Linked DNA regions of Homo sapiens: regions 2 and 3 are each linked to region 1. The links are contacts of gene promoters, found by promoter capture Hi-C in human tissues and cell types (Jung and others, 2019). All regions are on one chromosome and are shown on one strand. The core of a region is centred on a gene start or on the middle of the fragment in contact, and the rest is flanking DNA. Distances in the headings are between cores, read along the strand shown. Region 1 holds the start of CCDC7 (coiled-coil domain containing 7). Region 2 overlaps EPC1 (enhancer of polycomb 1). Region 3 has its middle 89 kb from the start of EPC1.

Evidence for each region. The method cuts DNA at HindIII sites, captures the fragments that hold promoters and counts their contacts. A contact is called where the count stands out against the background at its distance.
Region 2: a fragment that was not itself captured here is called in contact with the fragment with the promoter of CCDC7 in region 1 in 1 of the 25 tissues and cell types used here (hippocampus).
Region 3: a contact is called between a fragment that was not itself captured here and the fragment with the promoter of CCDC7 in region 1, in 1 of the 25 tissues and cell types used here (H1 embryonic stem cells).

What each region holds. Positions count from the first base shown.
Region 1 is chr10:32,444,853-32,448,238 of GRCh38, forward strand. CCDC7 (coiled-coil domain containing 7) reads left to right here and starts at 1,288. Exons shown (of 44, transcript NM_001395015.1): 1 at 1,288-1,545. LOC101929431 (a long non-coding RNA gene) reads right to left here and starts at 1,204. Exons shown (of 3, transcript NR_120660.1): 1 at 761-1,204. RefSeq lists an enhancer at 839-1,158 and a silencer at 1,229-1,458. The HindIII fragment of the contact is 7,178 bases long and covers 1-3,386 here.
Region 2 is chr10:32,281,597-32,284,814 of GRCh38, forward strand. EPC1 (enhancer of polycomb 1) reads right to left here. Exons shown (of 14, transcript NM_001272004.3): 10 at 3,102-3,218. Among named protein-coding and RNA genes, the nearest start is that of EPC1, 64 kb to the right of the region's middle. The HindIII fragment of the contact is 3,694 bases long and covers 1-3,218 here.
Region 3 is chr10:32,256,336-32,259,811 of GRCh38, forward strand. No RefSeq gene overlaps it. Among named protein-coding and RNA genes, the nearest start is that of EPC1, 89 kb to the right of the region's middle. RefSeq lists a silencer at 403-522. The HindIII fragment of the contact is 4,191 bases long and covers 1-3,357 here.

The DNA.
Region 1 (3,386 bases), core at 38-2,537:
TTTTTTTTTTTTTCTTTTTTAGATGGAGTCTCGCTCTGTTGCCCAGGCTGGAGCGCAATGGCACAATCTCGGCTCACTGCAACCTCCACCTCCTGGGTTCAAGTGATTCTCCTGCCTCAGCCTCCTAAGTAGCTGGGATTACAGGCACCCGCCATCACGCCCGGCTAATTTTTGTATTTTTAGTAGAGATGGGGTTTCACCATGTTGGCCAGGCTAGTCTCGAACTCCTGACCTCGAGTGATGCACTGCCTCAGGCTCCCAAAGTGCTGGGATTACAGGTGCGAGCCACCACGCCCAGCCTGCCTTCATGAATTTTTGAACACACCCAGAAAGAGCAGAAGACAGAACATTTCTGGTACACCAGAAGATGTGTTGTTTTCCCTTTCCAGGCAACCCCAATGGTAACTCCTAGTGGTGTGATGGAGCTAGCCTACACCAGCTCTTGGGAGCTGATAAATTTTCAGGAATCTCTTGTGAGGCATTCAGATTTTACTGGAAAATTAGAAATAATTAGATATAATGAATTTTCAGAGTTTTAGAAAATAGTTGAAATCTACTAAGTCAAATCTAAGGTCTCCTTTAAACCTCCTGGTTTTTAGTTTTAGTTCCATCTTTCCTATTCCTTTCATTTACACACAGGCATTATTAACAGTTAAATTGTATCAATTAATATTTTAAAATATTAAAAACATTTTACTTCGTTCAACTTAAAGACAAAATTAATATATTTCTTGAGGTCAAATTATCTAAAAAACTCTACCTTGTAAAATTGCATCTTAAAGCAGTGCGTGGAAACTGATGGCAAGAAACCACTTAAGTGTCACAACTCTGCTTCAAGTTAATTCCTAGTCCATTTGATTTTGTTTTGCTTTTAAGATCACGAAGCTGGTGTACACTTCCGTGCGAGCTTAGAGTGGTAATGAACTCCACAATACACTGAAAAGAGCTTGAGGAGACAGCAGATGAAGGACTGGGGCTCTGGTTTTGTAGCTGAAGCCCAGGTTCTCAAAGGTCCTACCAGGCCTGTACTTTATTTCTCCTCCGCGGGCCTCTAGGCCAAATGCCTGGATGAATCTGCGCTCAGGGGGCGTCCTGGAATTACACTTGGGAGAGAATAAGAAAGGAGGAGGCCGATGTGCCCATGGACATTATTAACCTTCCGGCAAATCCCCACAGCCGCCAAACTGCGTCTCCTCTTCCGCTCTCGGCGCGCAGCTCACGCTCGCAGCGTCAGCGACGCCGGCGGCGCCAAGGCGTCGTGGCGTCGGGCGCCTGGGACGTGGCTTCAACGGCCCCATCCGGCGCCGGCGGCGGGTGCCCGGCGGTCTTTGCTGCCGCCCGGGGGCGCAGAGGCCGGGCCTTTTCTTTCAGCACAAACGTCAGTTTGTAAAAGGGAGGTGCTGGAGTCTGAGGAGTTTTCAGGCTTCCGTCTCGAAGGAAGTCTGGCAGGCTCGGAATTGTCATCTTCCTCAGGCAAATAGTTTTTCACCTTAGAGCCAGCAAGGCCAAACCGCCCAGTCACCCGACTTCCCACAGTCTCAGCAGGTACACAGGGCGGGGAGCCTCGGGAGCGGCTCCCTTAGCAGGACCTGAGGGTTTCGGGAGAGTCCTGGCTTTGCACTTAGTTTTCCCGCTGCCTGGCTGCCTCCGTGGCGGTTGTGCTGCTTTTTATGCAGGATGTAGGATCGAAGGCAAATCATCCTTTCCCTACGTCCCCTGCCAACCCCTGCCGCTCTCCTCTATTTTGTACACTTTATCATTAAAGGATTTGAAATGAATGTAAGTTAATCCTTGAAGGATGAAACCAGAAAACATTTGTCGTGGTGGCGGAAAGGGACGGATGCACTTGGGCGAAGTAATGCTGACATCCACTTCCTAGCATTGTTAGGAGGGATAAATGAATTAAATATGTAAAGTCCTTAAATATTTGCTTGCTAATACGAGTATTCATTGCGTGTGACTATTTTTGTATTTATGTGAACTTCATCGGAGCATTTGTCAGGTTCTTTTTTTTTGCACCAAGTGAGCGTTGCCTGCCTGCCTGCCTGCCTGCCTCCCTCCCTCCCTCCCTTCCTTCCTTCCCCTCTTCCCTTCCTCCCTCCCTCCCTCCCTCCCTCCCTCCCTCACACTTTTTTGGGGAGAGAGGACACAATGCAATCCATAACAGCATATACACTTGTTCTTTTTTCCATCGAACTTTCCTCTTGACCATGTTTTCTTCTAGTAATACTGTATTTCTTTACTCCCTTTTATAGTAAAATTTCTCTACAGTGCTTATATTCAATTCATTGTTCCTACTTCCTCTCTTTTGAACGGTAAGTCAGATATTTACCTCGATCATTCTACTGAAATTGTTGCCGTTCTTCAGGTTACAAATGACCTACCTCCATGTTGCCAAATCCAGTGTCAGCTTAGTCTTCATTTTACTTGACTCAGCATTTGACGTAGTTCATCACTCGGTCCTTGGTGATATTTTCTTTTCCTTGCTTTCTATGTATATATAACCTTTTGGTTTTACTTATTGGCTCATTGGCCACTCTTCTTACGTCCTGTTTCCTGGTCCTGATGGTTTTGATGGAATTTTTGATGTTTGCTTGGACCTGAAGGTTTTGATGGAGTTTCTTTGGCAATGTAATTTATTCAGAATTCTTTTGAGGCTTTTCAATTTTGTAAATTTAATCTTGGTTTCTGCATCATTTTGCTTGTATCATTAATTTTTACTGAAAGCATCGTGTCACAATCGGCATGAGAAAAATGTAAAAGGGAGCAGGGCGCACAGTGGCTCAGGCGTGTAATCCCAGCACTTTGGGAGGCTGAGGTGGGAGGATCACCTGAGGTCAGAAGTTCGAGACCAGCTTGGCCAACGTGGTGAAACCCTGTCACTATTAAAAATACAAAAATTAGCCGGACGTGGCAGTGGGCACCTGTAATCCCAGCTACTTGGGAGGCTGAGGCAGGAGAATCGCTTGAACCTGGGAGGCAAAGTTTGCAGTGAGCAAGATTGTGCCATTGTACTCCAGCCTGGGCGACAAGAGCGAAACTCTGTCTCAAAAAAACGAAAAATGTAAAAGGGAATATTTTGCAGGGGCTTTGGTTCAAGTTCTATAATGTGTTTATTTACTATTATCATCAGTAATTTCCAAGAGAGCATTGTGTTCTTCCTTCAAATGGATTTTTAGTGACAAGTTATTTTTGCAAAGTCATATTTGATTATGATTTAAAAATTATGCTTGGCAACTATGCATTCAGTTAACTATAGTGTTAACTATAGTGTTTCATCGAAACAAAAAAGCAGTTGTATAATTCTTGGATGAAATAAACATTTTCAGTGCTATTAAGATATTTTCGTTCTATTGTTCACAACCTAGTTTAGAATTTTTATTTTT
Region 2 (3,218 bases), core at 449-2,948, 160 kb before region 1:
GGCTCACTCTGGAGAATATATTCTTTCAGTAAATTGTATTTAGAATTCTGTATAACATTTGAGCTGCTACATTTTCTCTTTTTTTTTTTTGAGATGGAGTCTCACTCTGTCGCCCAGGCTGGAATGCAATGGCACAATCTCGGCTCACTGCAACCTCTGACTCCCAGGTTCAAGCCATTCTCCCTGCCTCAGCTTCCTGAGTAGCTGGGATTACAGGCGCCTGCCATCATGCCCAGCTAATTTTTGTATTTTTTAGTAGAGACCAGGTTTCGCCATATTAGCCAGGCTAGTGTGGAACTCCTGACCTCAGGTGATCTGCCCGCCTCGGCCTCCCAAAGTACTGGGATTACAGGCATGAGCCACCACACTTGGCCTAAATTTTGTTTTTTTTTTCTTCAGGGGCCTGGAGTTGGATTAAGTGAAATGCACTTATGATATGGCTGCATTGTAATATACTTTATAAAGTATGCAGAGAAAAGCTTTAGGTCTCTGGAATATTCACAAATATAAATGAACAGTGTTACCCTACAGTAGTCTGTAGGTATCTATCCTCTAAGTATTAGAAGATCTAGCAAAATTTAAGGAGAAATTGAAAATAATTAAGACAACAGGAAAAAAAATAGATAAACTCATTTTTAAAAAGTAGTATTGAGGCTGGGTGCAGTGGCTCACCCCTGTAACCCTAGCACTTTGGGAGGCCAAGGCAGGAGGATCACTTGAGGCCAGGAGTTCAAGACTAGCCTGGGCAACATAGACCCTATCTCTTACAAAAAATTAGCCAGTCATGGTGGCATACGCCTGCAGTCCTAGCTACCCAGGAGGCTGAGGTTGGGGGATCACTGAGCCTGGGAAGTTGAGGCTGCAGTGAGCCATGACTGTGCCACTATACTCCAGTCTGGGTGACAGAGAAAGATCCTGTCTTAAATAAATAAATAAATAGTTGTATCGCATATATGGAGGAAAGAAATGATAAAGAAGAAAAATTACAAGGTTACTAATGATTTCTTTTCAGCTAAGCTTTTGGTAATGCTCATCTTTTAATGTTCTTTGGGCAAACACAAATCAAACAATTTTTACAACTGTTATTAATATGCCTAAAGCAGTATAGCAAAACATTTTTCATAAAAAAAGAGCATTATAAAATCCTTAAATATTTAGGATAGTTATACACTTCAACTTCTCTATTTAAGGGGTGGAGAAGATGGAGATTGATGGAACATGCCTATTTTCTGAGAAGTCTTAAAGAATTTTTACAGCTTAGAAAGCTTAATTATCAGGGTAACCTATGACAGGTTTATACTGTTAAAACCTCTATACTAACACTATAAGTAAGTCTTTATTGAAAAGTTCTTTATTTTGATTCTTAAGACTATAAAAGTAGAGAGAAACTGGCTTTTGGTGATAAAGACAGTAACATTAATGGGATTATAAATAAGCTGTTAGTCCCTAAAATAGCTTTATCTTCCAGCTGATTTCTGAATTGTGATTATTTTTCTCATGAGCTGAAAGACTTCCATTTCATAGAAGTACAGCTGACCCTTGAATAACATGGGTTTGAACTGCCTGGGTCTACTTATTTGTAAATTATCTTCTGCCTCTGTCACCTCTCAGATGACAAGACCAACCCCTCCTCCCCCTCAATGTGAAGATGACAAGGATAAAGACCTTTATGATGATCCACTTACACTTAATGATTAGTAAATGTATTTTCTCTCCTTTATGAATTTCTTTTTTTTTTGAAACAGGGTTTTGCTTTGCTGTGAAGCCTGGAATGCAGTGGCATGATCTTGGCTCACTGCAGCCTTGACCTTCTGGGCTCCTACCACCTCAGTCTCCTGAGTAGCTGAGACTACAGGCGCTCACCACCACACCCAGTGAATTTCTGCATTTTTTGTAGAGATGAGGTTTCACCATGTTGCCCAGGCTGGTCCTGAACTCCTGGGCTCAAGCAATCTGCCCACTTTAGCCTCCCAAAGTGCTGGGATTACAGGCATGAGCCACCATGCCTGGCTCTATAAATTTCTTAATAACATGTTCTTTTTCCTAGCTTATTTTAAGAATGAAGTACAGAATACATATAACATACAAAACATGTATGTTTGGACTGTTTATGTTAATGGACTAATGGACTGTTTATGTTATTGGTAATTCTGGTCAGGAGCAGACTATTAGTCAAGTTTTTGGGGAGTCAAAAGTTATACATGAATTTTGGACTGCAATTGGGGGGTGCCCCTAACCCTCATGTTGTTCAGGGGTCAACTGTACTTTTTTTTAACCACCAAGTAAATTAGTTTACGGAACATTTTCTGGAGGTCTTTAAGAATCAGAGCAAATGTTCATATTTATGAAGCAACTTAACTATAACCCTACAGGGTGAATTAGGGGAATGATAAATATCTTCATAGTCCTCAGATTACCTTTACAAAAATCAGTAGTAACATAATTCAATGGTGAATTTCTACAATATATAGGCTTCAAATAACACAAACTTATGCTTTAAAACAGACAGCTAAGATTATAGGAATATTTTAAATAAACAGCATTTATTTTAGACACATTTCAAATAGAAGCCACAATAATCAAATAGATATTATCTGAAAACGTTTCAAAAATATTAACCCTTTAAATGTTCTTCTCTGAAAAATTAGTTTATCTTTAACAAATTATTCTGAATTATTGTGTCAACATATAAGGTTATGCATATATATTCACTTGCTGGTCTCTATGTTAAAGCAAACTAGGTAAAAACTAGAGAAATATCTGAACATAAAATGGTTAACAATTTACGGCCCATTTTCTTCTCATATTATTGAAAAATATGATAAATCTTGTGGTTCACGGACTATATCCAGGAAACAAATGTCACATATTAAATAGAAATAAACCATCTTTGTATGCAGGTATGTTTAAATGAAGACACACACATACAAACTCCTATAGCAACAGGATTCAAATAAATACTTAGACCAAGATTTTTTTTTTAACTGTTTAAGAGAAAAGGACTTTAAGCCATAAATGTAACAGACCACATAGTCGAACAAATGGGAAATGGTTGGACCTGACATTTCTATAGAAACGTACATCATTAACAGTCAACATACCAAAGTGTGCTGAACCACTGCTACTTTTACTTTGCGTAGAGGTACTGCATGTCTGGGTCCCAGGTTGTGCTGTTCCTGTTCGGTTTATACTCCTATATAATTTTCTACAGGAGAGTT
Region 3 (3,476 bases), core at 12-2,511, 190 kb before region 1:
GCTAATTTTGTATTTTTAGTAGAAACGGGGTTTCACCATGTTGGCCAGGCTGGTCTCGAACTCCTGACCTCAAGTGATCCTCCCACCTCGGCCTCCCAAAATGCTGGGATTACAGGCGTGAGCCACCGCACCCGGCCAGGATATGCATTTTTATCAGCGTGTCAAGTGATTCCTATGCGGGTGGTCGGAGGACCAGACTTTGAGAAACAGTGTCCAAAAGTGGCTGGCACAGCCTCAGTAAGCATTTGCCATGTGATCCATCTCTCCTTACACAAGGAAAAACTGTATCTATTGCTTAAAAACACTTTAAAGCATTCCAATCACATGGTGACGTTTCTAGAGATAGTCTATGTGTAGCCCTGTTCCCAATCTCTATCCCTCTTGATAACACAAGTGGAGGCAAAATGGTACACTCTGTTTTTGCACTTTGTCACCTAACTGGGCCTTTCATTGTCCACGATTTCTGGGCAGCTATGCGGTTTCGCTCGTTCCCAAAGATTGCCACTAGGCGGCACCAGTGACTTCCCCCATCACTAATCAAGTGGCCAAATTAGCAGGCAATTACCAAATGTTTAGCGAGAATGTAGAATGTTTTATCGGCCAGTTTACCACCTATGGTCTCAGAGATCTGGCTCTTTTTGCTTTTGATTACATTAGAATGAATTTCAGAGCCACTAACTTTGGGCCATCTCTCTATCTACATTAGAATGAATTCCAGAGCCACTAACTTTGGCCCGTCTCTCTATCATTAATATTTAAAGAGGTGTGTTTGCATGGAGATGTGGGATGTGTAGGCTTGGACCAGGCCCAGGGACTTCTGCTGGAGGGGGGTTTGGTCCAAGCTGTCCTGGGCAGAAAGGACAGCTATGAAAAATGCAGCAGACCTATAGAGGTCCAAACACAGAACTGTAGGCTTGACACTTCCCCCACCAGGTCTCTGTGATCCTTTTTACTTCCCTCTCCCCAAGCCTCTTGCTCCAAAAGAAGACAGTGAACAGTCCCAGTGTGGCGGTTCACACCTGTAATCCTAGCACTTGGGGAGGCCAGGGCAGGAGGATCGCCTGAGCCCAACAGTTCGAGACCAGTCCTGGCAACAAAAAATAAAAAAAATAAAAATCAGCCAGTCGTAATGGTGTGCACTTGTAGTCCCACCTATGCGGGAGGCTAGGGTGGGAGGATCACTCGAGCCTGGGAGTTCAAGGCTGCAGTGAGCTGTGGTTGTGTCGTGCCACTGCACTGCACTCCTGACTGGGTGACAGAGTGAGACCCATTCTTTCTCTCAAAAAAAAAAAAAAAAAAAAAAGACAGTGAACAGAAATAATACTCTTTTTTTTCTTTTTTTGAGACGGAGTTTCGCTCTTGTTGCCCAGGCTGGAGTGCAATGACACAATCTCAGCTCACCACAACCTCTGCCTCCCAGGTTCAAGCAGTTCTCCTGCCTCAGCCTCCCACGTAGCTGGGATTACAGGCATGCATGCACCACCACGCCCAGCTAATTTTGTACTTTTAGTAGAGACGGGGTTTCTCAGTGTTGGTCAGGCTGGTCTCAAACTCCCGACCTCAGGTGATCCACCCACCTCGGCCTCCCAAAATGCTGGCATTACAGGCGTGAGCCACCGCATCTAGCCAGAAATTTTTAACTGTGGTAAAATATATATGGCATAAAAGTTACATCTTTTTATATATATATATATTTATATATTTATTTATTTAGAGACACGATCTCGCTCTGTCACCAAGGCTGGAATACAGTGGTACCTTGAACTCTGGGACTCAAGTGATCCTCCTGCCCCAGCCTCCCGAGTAGCTGGGACTACAAGGCACACTACACCCAGCTAATTTTTTTATTTTTTGTACAGACAGGGTCTTGCTTTCTTGCAAGAGTCTGGTCTCAAACTCTTCAAGCAATCCTCCTGCCTCAGCCTCCCAAAGCACTCAATTACAGGCCCCAGCCACCGCATCCAGCCTTTCTTTATTTTTAACTGTGCAGTTCAGTAGTCCTAAGTATCTTCACATTGTTGTGCGACCAATGTCCGGAGTTCTTTTCATCTTGTAAAACTCCAGGCTGGAGTGCAGTGACTCGGCTCACCGCGCAACCTCTGCCTCCTGGGTTCAAGCAATTCTCCCACCTCAGTCTCCCAAGTATCTGGGAATACAAGCGCCCGCTACCGTGCCTGGCTAATTTTTTGTATTATTAGTAGAGACGGGGTTCCACCATATTGGTCAGGCTGGTCTCGAACTCCCAACCTCAGGTGATCTGCCCACTTTGGTCTCCCAAAGTGCTGGGATTACAGGTGTGAGCCACCGCGCCTGGCCTCCTCTTGTAAAACTGAATCACTATACCTATTAAATAACAATTTCCTATTTCCTCCTCCCTTGGTCCCTGGCGACCATCTTTCTGCTTTTTATTTGTATGAGTTTGAGTACTTTAGATACCTCAATATGTGGAATCATACCACATTTGTCTTTTTGTGACTTTTATTTCACTTAGCATAATGTCCTCAAGGTTCATCCATGTTGTAGCATGTGACAGGATTTCCCTGTTTTTTTGTTTTTTGTTTTCTGTTTTTTTTTTTTTTTTTTTTTTTGAGACGAAGTCTCGAACTTTCACCCAGGCTGGAGTGTAGTGGGGCGATCTCGGCTCACTGCAAGCTCCGCTTTAAAAGCTGAATAATATTCCATTGTATGTATACACCACATTTTCCTTGTTGATGGGCACTTTGTTTCTACCTTTTGGCTGTTGTGAATAATGCTGCTATGAATATAAATGTACAAATATCTCTTCAAGACCTTGCTTTCAATTCTTTGAGATGTATACTTAGAAGTGGAATCCCTAGGTCATATGGTAATTCTACTTTTTTTTTTTTTTTTTTGAGACAGAGTCTCGCTCTGTGCCCAGGCTGGAGTGCAGTGGCGAGATCTCGGCTCACTGCAAGCTCCGCCTCCCGGGTTCACGCCATTCTCCTGCCTCAGCCTCTCGAGTAGCTGGGACTACAGGCGCCCGCCACCACACGCGGCTAATTTTTTGTATTTTTAGTAGAGACGGGGTTTCACCGTGTTGGTCAGGCTGGTGTTAAACTCCTGACCTTGTGATCTGCCCGCCTTGGCCTCCCAAAATGCTGGGATTACAGGTGTGAGCCACGGTGCCCAGCCAGAAGCTTTTATTTTTATTTTTTGAGACAGGGTGCCCTCTGTTTCCTGGGCTGGAGTGCAGTGTTACGATTACCGCTGAATGCAGTCTCAACCTTCTGGGCTCAAGCAATCCTCCTCCCTCAGCCTCCTGGGTAGCTAGGATTACAGGAATATACCATTATGCCCTTTTTTTTTTTTTTTTTTTTGGTAGAGATGGTGTCTTAGTATGTTGCCCAGGCTGGTCTTGAAATCATGGCCTCAAGCAATCCTCCCACCTTGCCCTCTCAAAGTGTTGGGATTACAGGCATGAACCTCCGAGCTGGGTCAGAAGTTTTACATTTTGA